3 separate regions of the Homo sapiens genome follow, and regions 2 and 3 are each linked to region 1. Evidence: promoter capture Hi-C in 16 types of primary human blood cells and fetal thymus (Javierre and others, 2016). All regions are on one chromosome and are shown on one strand. The core of a region is centred on a gene start or on the middle of the fragment in contact, and the rest is flanking DNA. Distances in the headings are between cores, read along the strand shown. Region 1 holds the start of TAMM41 (TAM41 mitochondrial translocator assembly and maintenance homolog). Region 2 overlaps ATG7 (autophagy related 7). Region 3 overlaps ATG7 (autophagy related 7).

Region 1 (3,873 bases), core at 141-2,640:
GGACACTTGAGATTTGGTGGCGAGGCAGGTATGGAATAAACATGTTTTTTAAAAATGTGTAATTATGTTAAGGTAAATTCGGGAAAAATAACTAGCCTATAATAACCTATAATTTCTCATATGCTGCCAATTTAAAGAAAAATATTAAATAGTAGTGTAAGTGGGAAACAGAGGAAATCCAAGCAACAGCATAGATGGCCTCACCAGGAAGTGAACAGGCAGGATGTTAATCAGAAGACAGACTACAGTCAGGTATCCAGACGCAGGGGGCCCCATTAAAACCTGCACACTGAATTCTGCAAATTACAAGGAAAACTGTACCCTTACTGAGGCTGTGCTGAGCCAACTCTGAAAAGTAACAATGCCTAGTCTCAAACAGACCGTTGTTAAAAGTGCTGAGCGAGGGTAAATACACTGGTCACGCACTAACTTTTGATGTTAGTTACTTTCACTGCACCTGCCCTGGCCCTACAACCAGTCCGCCAACTTCCTGAAGTCAGAAGATCATTTTGCATTTTCTCCTACATTTATAGAGGTGACTCTCAACAAACTTGGCTGCGCATTAGAATCACCTGGGACGTTTCTTAAATTCCTGAAGCCCAGGCCTCATCCCAAACCAATTAAATCAGAATCTCCATCGGCGGAAGCCGAGCATTAGGATTTTCTTAAAAGCTCCCCAGAAAATTCCGATGTCCAGCCGACTAAAACACTGAAAGAACCTGATAACGATTTCTTTTCCTTTCTTCCATTTGCCCCTGCAGCAGTTTTTCCTTCTGCCTAACTGCTTCTCCTGCTCTAGACCCACGTGGATTCCTAAGTATCCTTCAACACCGTCGCTTCAACTCGCGCTGTCGTTATACTAGGAAGGCAGGCCTATGGTTCACTCTGCTAGTGGACACGTGGAGTGTGCAGAGCGGACAGGCAGCTCTCCGACTCTGAAGGAATCGAGGGCAAAACGGGACTCGTGAGAACAGACAGTTCCCCGTCGTGGGGCTGCCCGGGCTCACCTTCTGGTCTGAACTCGGCCCTGCCTGGCGGTACACCCCGGAGCCGTAGACGAAAGCCAGACTCAGCTCCTCGGGGAAGTGAGACAGGATCTTGCGGAAGGTCACCCACGAGCTCTGCAGCGTCTGCAGCGCCATGGGGTCGAGGCTAACAGGGGACACTCAGCGCAGCAGGGCGAGGACAACCGGGCGGGGAACAGACACCGGGTAGGCGGTTTAGGGTGGGAAATGGAAGTCGGAGACTGGATCGAGGGACACAAGGCTGAGTGTGGGGTGGGACTGCAAGCACACGCAAGGATTGGGGCGTTGGGCCACGAAGAGCAGCGGCGAGAAGACGCAGCCCAGATAGGCTCGGGTGGGCGGCGGTCGCACAGGCAGAGCTTCCGTCCCTTGCTACGCCCCACGCACGCACAGGCGCTTCCAAGACGCAAGAGGCGGTGCTCGCCTTAGTGTGGGGAACGCGAGGCTTTGCATTGTCCCCTCGTGGTCGGAGGAGTGCCCTACAGGCTGGCGGCTAGGTTGCGACTTGGACAAATCGGCGGAGGCGAGCGTCACCCGACTCCGCGGGCCCTGAGCCTTGATAGCCTCTGTACTTCTCTCTTCAAACTACGGTTTAAAGAATGACTATAAAATCGGGAGCGTATTGAAGGTTTTTAAGTGAGGCGACACTCACATAATATGGAACTAGCCGTTCTGAAATGGACAGTGTAGTAGCATGTAGTGCCTTCACAATATTGTGCCCCCATCATCGCTCTAGTTCCAAAATTGCAGATTTCGAAGATTTGGAAAAACACAAAATTAAAATGATGCCCAATCCCGCCATGTAGAGAATACCACCGTCAAGATTTGACGGAGACTTCTTCACGCTAAAGCCCTTTTCAAATACAAGGGTGGATATGGGAGTGCACAGACGTTCTCTGATACTTGCATTTAATTTCAAGGGTGGATCACAGTTTTTGCCCCCTTGCCTTGTGGAATGGTCTCACAAAGGGTGCTTCAAATGCAGTTTCTGGAGGAAACAGGACCCTAGGAGTAGAAAAATCTTACAGCTCTCCTCTTTGTATAACTGGAGAAACTTGCTGAAGATTACCATTCAGGAGGTGGTTTGACTTCCAGGACAGAAACTTTTTCAACTACCCTCTCCTTCCTCCCCAAAATACACTACCTCTCAAAAATAATAGAAATAGTAATAGCTAACATTCAGGTAATGTTGACACATTTTCACATGCACTTCTCACTGAGCACCCTCTAGTGCCCTGTGGCAGGAGGGCCTTGGTTTTACTGATGGCCAAGCTAAGGCTTAGAGAGGTAAAGCCAGGTGATAGGATCACATCAGCCTGTGGCAAAACTAGAGCTAAACCCAGGTCTGGCTCCAACTCTGGGATTTTTTCGGAAATTCTGCTCTGTCCTTGAAGGGTTTTGAGCAAGGACTTATGTAATTCACATGTTAGCCTGAATTGTGGGGGACTGATTAGACAGTTGTTATCATAGTTCCCCCATGAACTGGAAACGGCTAGGCCAAGGTCTTAGGAGCAGGGATGGGATTAAATCAATTGGAAAAATGATTACTTGCACTCACACTCTGGGCCTGCACTGAGATGAAGAGATCTGAGCTGCCTGCTGCCCTGCAGGAGCTAGGGGTCTGTAGAGGAGAGGAGACAGAACTGCAAATCAGAGTAGAATTTGGGTAATGCAGCCAGGTACCCAGCACAGTGCCGGAATGTAATGTCCCTCCAATGGGAACGTCAGTCAGTTCTGGGTGTTGGGGAAAGGGACCAGAAGAGGTTTCACAATGATGGCATTTTGAGCCAGGCCTGGAAGCTGGGTAGGAGTTTATCAGGTAGAAGATAGATGGGAAAATTCAACCAAGAAAGAATTGAAAGGACTCGGTGACAATAATACTAATAATAGGTGTCATTATTAAGCACTTAGTATGCCCAGGCACTTTTTAGACTTCTTTGGGGCTTTTCTGTTTTTGTTTTTTTTTTGAGACCGAGTCTTGCTCTGTTGCCCAGGCTGGAGTGCAGTGGCACGATCTCAGCTCACTGTGACCTCTGCCTCCTGGGTTCAAGCAAGCATGCCTGGCTAATTGTTGTATTTTTAGTAGAGATGGGGTTTCACTGTGTTGGCCAGGCTGGTCTCGAAATCCTGACCTCTAGTGATTTGCCCACCTCAGCCTCCCAAAGTGCTGGAATTACAGGCGTGAGCCACTGCACCCAGGCTTTTTATACTTGTTTCTTTTCATCACTCCAGAGATCCTATGAGGCAGGTTCTCTAAGATGATGATATTTTTCATACGAGGAAACAGAGGTCCTAAGAGGAGCAGTAAATGTTCCAAAGTCACACAGGAAAGTGGTGAAGTCGGGGTTTGAACCTAGGGCTACCTACCTCTAAAGGCCAAGGTCTTTACCACCATGTTTAAGTGTCCTCTACAGCGGCTTGCAGGGTGAGAGAAGGAAATGGGAAGAAAGCAGGCACTCAGGCATCAGCCAAGAGTCAGGAGCAGCAGCAGTAGCCGCAGCAACAAGCAGGAGACCAGGGCAAGGGAGCGGAGAGAGGCCGTTTGTCTGCGGCCCCTGGTGTGGGCATGGTCACTTCCGTTCATTTTTACTACATATCGCCCTTGCCCAGGGTGCCGGAATCAGAGTGCACTCACCGTGGAATTACACTGAAGCCTCTCACCCAAAGACAGTGAATAAATCTCATTACCAGCCGGTTCCTTTTTTATTTCCTTCCTTCCCTTGGGGAAATAATTCAACGTCATTGGATTTTTCCTGTTTGCAAAAGTAATCCATGTTCATAAAAATGTAAACATTATGAAATACATACATCATGCCCCAGAAATAGCCACGGTAATCTTTGGCACATA
Region 2 (3,825 bases), core at 480-2,979, 460 kb before region 1:
GGGCCTGGATGGGGAGCCACTAAAAGGGCCCCTTCAGCTTTGATCTTTCCAGAAGCTCTAAAAATAGAGCTGGTATGTTAGCCATCGTAATGTGAAACGGCTGATATATCTCAAAACTACAGTGATGGCATCTCGTGTTTTAATAGGCTTTCGGATACCATCTGAGTGATTTTTACATGCACACTGTATGTGATAGCTGATTTCCTTTCAAGTGTTCCTTTCAGCCTTCTGCTGCCCAGCGACTTGACCTGGGCTTTTAAGGCTCATGATTGCTGATAAGTAAAGATTTTCATGTTGAAGTGCTATACAAAATAATGTTGGTGACCACTAATCCCCAACTGTGGCTTCTCAGTTACAATTTGGAACTATTTTTCGTGTAGCCTTCGTCTGTCTGCCACTGTGGAAGAAAGAGAATTCTAGGGATGTATTTCTCTATTCTGAGTTGACAAGCTTCCTTTGAAAACTGTACTTGGGCTATATTTTATGGGAAGCACAATCCTGACCAGTTTCTCTAAAAATTGAATGTAGAATTGACAAGCAATGTTGATAAATTTGGTTACGTTTAGATGCTCAAAAATTGAGACTAATTATTTTCTTTTTGCTTCCGAAGTAAACTAAGCCTGTTTTATTATGCATCCCAAGTGCCTATGTTGAGATTTCAAGCTTAGACTTTGTCAGTAGTTACCCATGAGCCCATTCTTTCTGTAGTTTCCTTTAAGATATATCTGCTCAAGCCAGGACCTCAAGGATGTCTGCATGCACCCCCATCTTCAGAAATGCAAGTTTTAGGATTGTATACTACATCTTTAGTGGAGCAGATTTTTTTTTTCTTTGAATGGTTGAGCTAACTGGTCTCAAAATAACTTGGCAGTATTAATTTTCATACTGAAATCATTTGGCACAGGTGCCAGGTTTTCTATGGCTTTATGTTGGTCTGGCTAGTCAATGAAATAAAGATAATTGGGTTCTCTAAGTGAAATGCAAACACTCATTCATTCTTGTTCTATTTCTAATTAAATTAGCCTTTCAGATACTGTTTATAAAAGAATCACAAGCATACCATCTAACTGGGCGTTCCTTATACTTTAAAAGAGAATAGCTTAGCATTTTTCTTTCACACTTATTGTAAGCTTTTAATTAAATATAGGTATCACTTTTTTGTTAGCAAAATTATTTCCTCTTGGTGATCATTTTGAGAGTCCTGCTTTACATAAACATGTTGGACGATTTAATACAAACTGACTTGGATTTTAACAGCTGTGCTATTCCCATAGCGGTCACTTTTCATGTGGTCTGAGTATTAAATTTCTTTTGTCCTGGAAAGGTTGCTTCATTGGTGCACGTATTTCCTTACAGTAGAAACGCAGCATTTACTTACTTGGCTACCTTCTTTATTTGCTTAGGAGATTGTCATTCTCTATTATCTGCAAACCCAACATTAATACTTTAAAATGACAAATCCAATTACATTTTCATTTCTGTGTATTTGAATTTTTCTTAATGTATATTTAGTATAATACATGTTATACAGAGTCATGTCATAGTTGTTGTTTCAAAAGATTGGGGCTAAAAATTACTTTTAAAAATTTATCCTTTGACATTCATGAAGTAATTTTTTCCTTTGGTAGTTTTCAGTATGTTTCCTCCTCCCCACCAGGATCAAGGCCATGCTTGTGTCTTGATTTAACCACAAATAGAGACAGACTGGGGAAGTAGAATAAGTTTCTGCTGAATAGTGAAGCACTTGTTCATTATCTTATTTATTAAAAACAAACAAAGCAATACATTATATACACATATATATAGAGAGAGAGAGTGCGAGCACGCACGCACGCGAGCGAGAGCTTTTTATGTAGCCTGAGGTGGGGAAGAATACAGTGCTTTGCTTCTAAAGCAGGAAAGTTGGAACATTTATCCATAAATCATTTCTTATCCTATGTGATCTTAGGTTGGCACATAACGAGGTGAATTGTTCCATCTTAGGGGAAAAATATTGAAGGATGGTGGGGAGAGGTGGGTGGTGAGGAGTCACTTTCATTCCAGTTTCTACTTATTGTCTTGCAGAACTTTCTAAACAGATGGTATTTGTCAATGAAATTTCAAAAGACCTTATTTGACGTTTATATGAGTTGCTCTTTACTTCTACAAAGAAATTCCAAGCTAACTAGAGTATTGTGGTGTTACTACCAGAGGGAAAAGTATAATTTTTAAAATCAATATTCCTGAAAGAATTTCCTGTAGTGCATTAAATTACTTTGTTATTGTTAGACTTTCACCTAAATATTTTTTGGCAGAGTATTTTTGGGTAACTTTCTATTGATATAATTTTAAGCTTAACAGAAACATTGGAAGAATAGTACAAGGAACTCCGGTATACACTTTACCCACATTCATCCATTGTTAACATTTTGCCCCACGTATATTTGCTGTCGTCCTCCAATCCCTCCTTCTTCCCTTCCCCTACCCCATTTTTTTCTTGAAATTTTGAGAGTAAGTTGGAGACATTCTGATCCTTTAAAACTGAATGCTTCAATGTGAATTCCAAAGAACAAAGACATTCTCTTACCTAAACACAATATCCTTATCAAATTCAGGCAATTTAATGTTTGCACAATACTATTTTCTAATCCACAGTCTGTGTATTCAATGTTGTTGTTTATACCAGTTAATGTTCATTATAGGTTTTTTCCTTCCAGACCAGGATCCAGTTGAGGATCAAACATTGCATTTAGTTGTCGTGTCTCTGGCTCCCTTCAATCTGGAAAAGTTACTTCATCTTTCTTTATCTTTCTTAACTTCAGTGTTTTGATATTTTGCCAGTTATTTTTGTAGAATTTCCCTCCATGTGGATTTGTCTGATGTTTCCCTATGATTCGATTCAGGTTATGAATTTTTGGTGGAAATACCAAAGAAGTGATGCTGTCTCCTCATGTCAGGAGTTATATAATATATTATATACCTTTCGGTGATGCTAGTTTTCCCTTTTCCATATTTCTGACTACCTTCTCCAACAGTGAGAAACCTGCAATCTCGGCTCACTGCAACCTCCGCCTGCCTCCCAGGTTCAAGCGATTCTCCTGCCTCAGCCCCACAAATAGCTGGGACTACAGGCACTTGCCACCATGCCTGGCTAATTTTTTGTATTTTTAGTAGAGACAGGGTTTCACTCCATTGGCCAGGCTGGTCTCTAACTGCTGACCTCGTGATCCGCCCGCCTCAGCCTCCCAAAGTGCTGAGATTACAGGCGTGAGCCACCGCATCCAGCCGTATCCTGGATATATTTACTCACTTGCTGAAGTCTAGAATAATACAGGAAGTAGTTTCAAAATTGCTAGCCCATACTACTACAGAAAATAAACCTAGAACCTTCAGTTCCTATTTGTGCATAGTTCTTTTTTTCCTAGGTAAAATTTATATATGGTGAAATGTATGAATCTTAAAACAACTCCGTAAGTTTTAACAAATGTATACACCCATGTAACCCACACTCTTCCTATCAAGATATTAGTGTTTTTCCATCACTCCAGAAAGTTCCCAGGTACCCTTTCCCAGTCAATTCTGGGGGAAGGGGAAGTATGTTGTATATTATGACTAGTCCTTCTCTAAAAGGAGTAAAGCTAGGCAGCTTCAGGTGTTCTTTGCAATAATAACCTTGTTTCTGGTACCCAGAAGTTGACCAAAACCTTTTTTCAGACCTGCAGAGTCAGGAGCAGGACTGTGCAGGAGGAGACTGCGTGCAGAGTATTCTTGCTCTTGTTGCACAATTCTATTACTCACAACCTTCTTGATAGTGCAAGAACAGCCTGTTGTGAAGAATCAGGCTCC
Region 3 (4,037 bases), core at 667-3,166, 480 kb before region 1:
GTTGGTCTGGCTGGTCTCGAACTCCTGACCTCGTGATCCACCTGCCTCAGTCTCCCAAAGTGCTGGGATTACAGGTGTGAGCCACCACGCTTAGCCAATAATGAATAATTTTTTGGTATATGTCCCATGCAATATTCAAGACCCACTTATACTAAAAATTTATTTATCTGAAATTCAAATTTAACTGAGTGTCTTGTATTCTCCCTAGCAATGCTAATAGAGGAGGGAAGAATACCTGCCCTGTCAACTCACAGTGCAAAGTGGGTCAAGTGCGACAGTGCTTTGAACAGCAAGACTACACTGTACAAATTAAGATTCTATGACTTTCAGAACTCCACACAAGTCAGTCTGTATGTAGGTCTGTTCCTTTATCAGAACAGATAACGATTTCCAGTGAAACAATGCAGAGATGTTTTCTGTAACCTCCCCTCTATTTTTCCTTTGTTTTAAAACTTTTCCCTTAATAACTCATATCTCTTTTGGATGACTGGCTTTTATGCCCTCCCAATATAAAGAAAAGAAGATGACCATTCTCTTTTATGGAGAAAGATGGCTTGATGATCTCTGTTATGGTGTTATAATATATAGCTGGTCTTGTTATTTAGTGATTGTCAACAAATACGATTAGTGGTCCCTTGCAGTAAAGTCCCATCTGCTCATAAGGTAAAATTTTTATAGAGTCAAAAATATCTCTAACAACCTCTTAATTTGCCCAGAGTTGGATGGTTAGACTCTCTTTGGTTGAACCAGCAAAGGCTTGTGCTTAGAGCCATGTTGTAGAAAAAAAAAATACTTGTAGTAAACCCTAGAATCACACAGAGAGGTGATGCCCATGTTGTGAGAGGCACATAGGAACTGAGGGCCGCAGGAATAGTAAATTGTTGCTCCCATCTCACGGTCACTTTGAGGTGTTAGCTCAGTTAAAATGGCAGGGCAGAATCATTTGCACTTTTCAAATCATTGTTCCTTTCTGTGTCTCTGTCACTTAACTACCAAGCACAGTAGAACTGAATTGAGTCACTTAAAGGAACACATGATGCAGTTCCATTATATGAGGCAGCTAAGCCCTCATTTTTGGTTAATATCCCCCAATCTGTTTAGGCTACTGATCCTTTTTAGCATATCACCTCATTTAGTTACCTAAATTGTATATTTTGTTTATCTTGATAATCTCAAGAAATGATGTACTTGAGGCTGGATGTTCTTTGCCAACAATGAGCATCTGGTTATAATTTAAAGCTTTGTCACAGAGGATTTCATACTTGAGACAGCTAGAGTTGAATGGAGTAGAACGTTCTGCACACACCAATGATTGTTTCTTTGCAGTCAACCAGAGACCGGACCTTGGACCAGCAGTGCACTGTGAGTCGTCCAGGACTGGCCGTGATTGCAGGAGCCCTGGCCGTGGAATTGATGGTATCTGTTTTGCAGCATCCAGAAGGGTGAGTTTGCTAGTAGGAGATGAGTATTTAAACAAAGCTTTTGTAGGCAGTTGTTCATCAGTGTCTCCCATGGCCTTTTCTCAGTCTGACTTTACAGAGAATTTCACTATTTCACCCTCAAAAAAACAAGACTAGAAAAAGCAGGTCTGGTTCTTTGGGCTGAGATAACTTGGCATGTTTCCTTTGTGGCCACATTTCTGCATCTTTCCGGACAAAGTCACTATGGTTTATTTTATTTTTCCAACGCTTATATAGGGCTTACTTTGTGCTAGGCACTGTTCTAAGCACCTTAGAAATTTTGCCTCCTTCAATCTTTTTTTTTTTTTTTAACGAGACGGAATTTCGCTCTTGTTGCCCAGGCTGGAGTGTAATGGCACGATTTTGGCTCACTGCAACCTCTGCCTTCTAGGTTCAAGTGATTCTCCTGCCTCAGCCTCCCAAGTAGCTGGAATTACAGGCATACGCCACCATGCCCGGCTGATTTTTGTATTTTTAGTAGAGATGGGGTTTTGCCATGTTGGTCAGGCTAGTCTTGAACCTCTGACCTCAGTGATCAGAAGTGATTCACCCACCTTATCCTCCCAAAGTGTTGGGATTACAGGCGTGAGCCATTGCACCCGGCCTCCTTTAATCTTCATAGCAAACATATTAGGAAAGAACTATTATTATTAGTCGCAGTTTTGATGGGGAAATCAAGGCATAGTGAGGATAAGTAAGTGGCCAAATTTACATAGTAAATGGAAAAGCCAGGGTTTAGCTCAACCAGTGTGGCTCCAGACTATGTTTAATGACTTTGTTATGCTGTTTGCAATACAGGCAGCAGAAAATCGAATTTTTGAAAGATTTATTTTTCCAGTTCTCAGAAAGTCAATATGCAAATTAACATGAATATTCTATTTCTTGTGTGACTCAAAGCTTTCCTCAGCAGTTGAAAATTGTGGTTGTATATGTAACTAGTATGGGTACTCTGAGATAAATGAAAAGCGGGGCTTTTTTGTCTTCCTCTTTGTCATCCACCTTAGCTATCTGTCATTTAAGTTTATTGCCACTCTCTGACAGGAAGTATTTGGGATAAAATCTTTGAGAGCTGACTTTATGCTTCCTTGACACTGAGCCTCTGTCTGCCACATTTGCCCTGGTCATAGTTTAAACACCAGGTCCTGTGTCACATCTTTTTGGTGCCACAAGTATCACTCCATTGTTCAGAGAGTAGTGTATTAGTTCTGCCCAATTCATTCTTCACTTTTATTTCTTCCATTTCATTAGCATTTATATCAGCTCAAGAAGTTAAGGTTAGAAAATTTTCCACTTCAAATTTTCAGTACAGAAATGTGCTGTGATGTTTGACAAGACTATTTCATAGTAAGTGAGTTAATGTTTATTGGCCTCTGATATGCCGAACATTGCACTCGGCAGTTGATGTAGTAGATTCCTCATTTATTAATCAGAGCTCCCTCATTCCTACTTTATAGATGATGGATCTGAAGCACAGAAAAGTTAAGCAACTTGCCTATGGTCACAAGCTCAGGTCTTTCTGACTCCAAACCATGCATGTTTAAATTACTCTTCTTGCCCTTTGTCCCAGGGAAATTAGTTTTTTGCTAACTTACACTGCCCAGCAAGGGGCATTTTAGTTATCCTTATGAATCTTATGTAGATTTCTGCTAGATCATCCTCCCATGTGTTAAACTTGGATTAAATGAGCAGCTCTGATTGTTTCCTGTCCTCAGGGGCTATGCCATTGCCAGCAGCAGTGACGATCGGATGAATGAGCCTCCAACCTCTCTTGGGCTTGTGCCTCACCAGGTTAGTGATGTGGAAGTGAAATCACAATTCTTTTGGTACAGGGGGAAAGCATGTGGGGTCTCTTTGCCATTCCATCTGCCCAGCCCACTTCATATCCACCCTACTTACCCTGCAGCTGGGATTTCAATGGGAGAGCTTTCTGACCACCTGGAAGGTATTCCATTCTGCGGGATAGTGATGGGAGGAAATCACGAACGAGAAGCATTGCCCAGAGTCTTTGATGCGTTTTGTAAACTGACTAGAGGCCTCATAATGCAATAGGAACAGAAAAAACAGGCTTTGGAATCAGTCATACAATGGTTTAAATCCCAGCCCTGCCGTTATAAAGATGGCCTTCTTTGGCCAAGTCACTAAACTTCTCTGAGGCTTAGTTTTCTTATCTGTAACATAGAGAAGGTAATGCTGACATCACCTGGTAGTTGTATGGATTATGGATGGTTGCTAGAAAGGGCTCAGCAACAGTGTATATCATAGGCCCTCAACAAACAATGCCTGCTGTTTCTTTACTGTTGCTTGTTATTATTATTGACTCTGAACCCAAATAGAAAACCTTTATAGGCAGGCATGAGAAAAACATTAGAAGCATGCAGGGTCACCAAAAAGTGGGGTGTCTTTTCAGAAAAAGAATCCAAAGCATCATGAGGAAGTTCCATCCCTTAGGGAGTAAAAAGAAAAAGGCAGTGGGATGATCTTTTAGAATTCATGTTGCCTCTTCAGTCATTTTCATTACTATATTTTTGGGAGATTGAAGAGGTTTTCCAGTCTTATTTGGAAATCATTTTTTTTTAG

Evidence for each region. The method cuts DNA at HindIII sites, captures the fragments that hold promoters and counts their contacts. A CHiCAGO score of 5 or more calls a contact.
Region 2: a contact is called between a fragment that was not itself captured here and the fragment with the promoter of TAMM41 in region 1, in 2 of 17 cell types (fetal thymus and total CD4 T cells). The highest score is 6.4, in fetal thymus.
Region 3: a fragment that was not itself captured here is called in contact with the fragment with the promoter of TAMM41 in region 1 in 1 of 17 cell types (fetal thymus); the score reaches 5.4 in fetal thymus.

The regions. Positions count from the first base shown.
Region 1 is chr3:11,845,495-11,849,367 of GRCh38, forward strand. It overlaps TAMM41 (TAM41 mitochondrial translocator assembly and maintenance homolog), which reads right to left and starts at 1,391. Exons shown (of 8, transcript NM_001284401.2): 1 at 1,008-1,391. The coding sequence starts at 1,142. The HindIII fragment of the contact is 19,949 bases long and covers 1-3,873 here.
Region 2 is chr3:11,380,482-11,384,306 of GRCh38, forward strand. The region is part of intron 19 of ATG7 (autophagy related 7); the gene reads left to right. Among named protein-coding and RNA genes, the nearest start is that of ATG7, 110 kb to the left of the region's middle. The HindIII fragment of the contact is 1,202 bases long and covers 1,129-2,330 here.
Region 3 is chr3:11,361,487-11,365,523 of GRCh38, forward strand. It overlaps ATG7 (autophagy related 7), which reads left to right. Exons shown (of 21, transcript NM_001349232.2): 17 at 1,327-1,442; 18 at 3,173-3,248. Among named protein-coding and RNA genes, the nearest start is that of ATG7, 91 kb to the left of the region's middle. RefSeq lists an enhancer at 2,795-3,994. The HindIII fragment of the contact is 878 bases long and covers 1,478-2,355 here.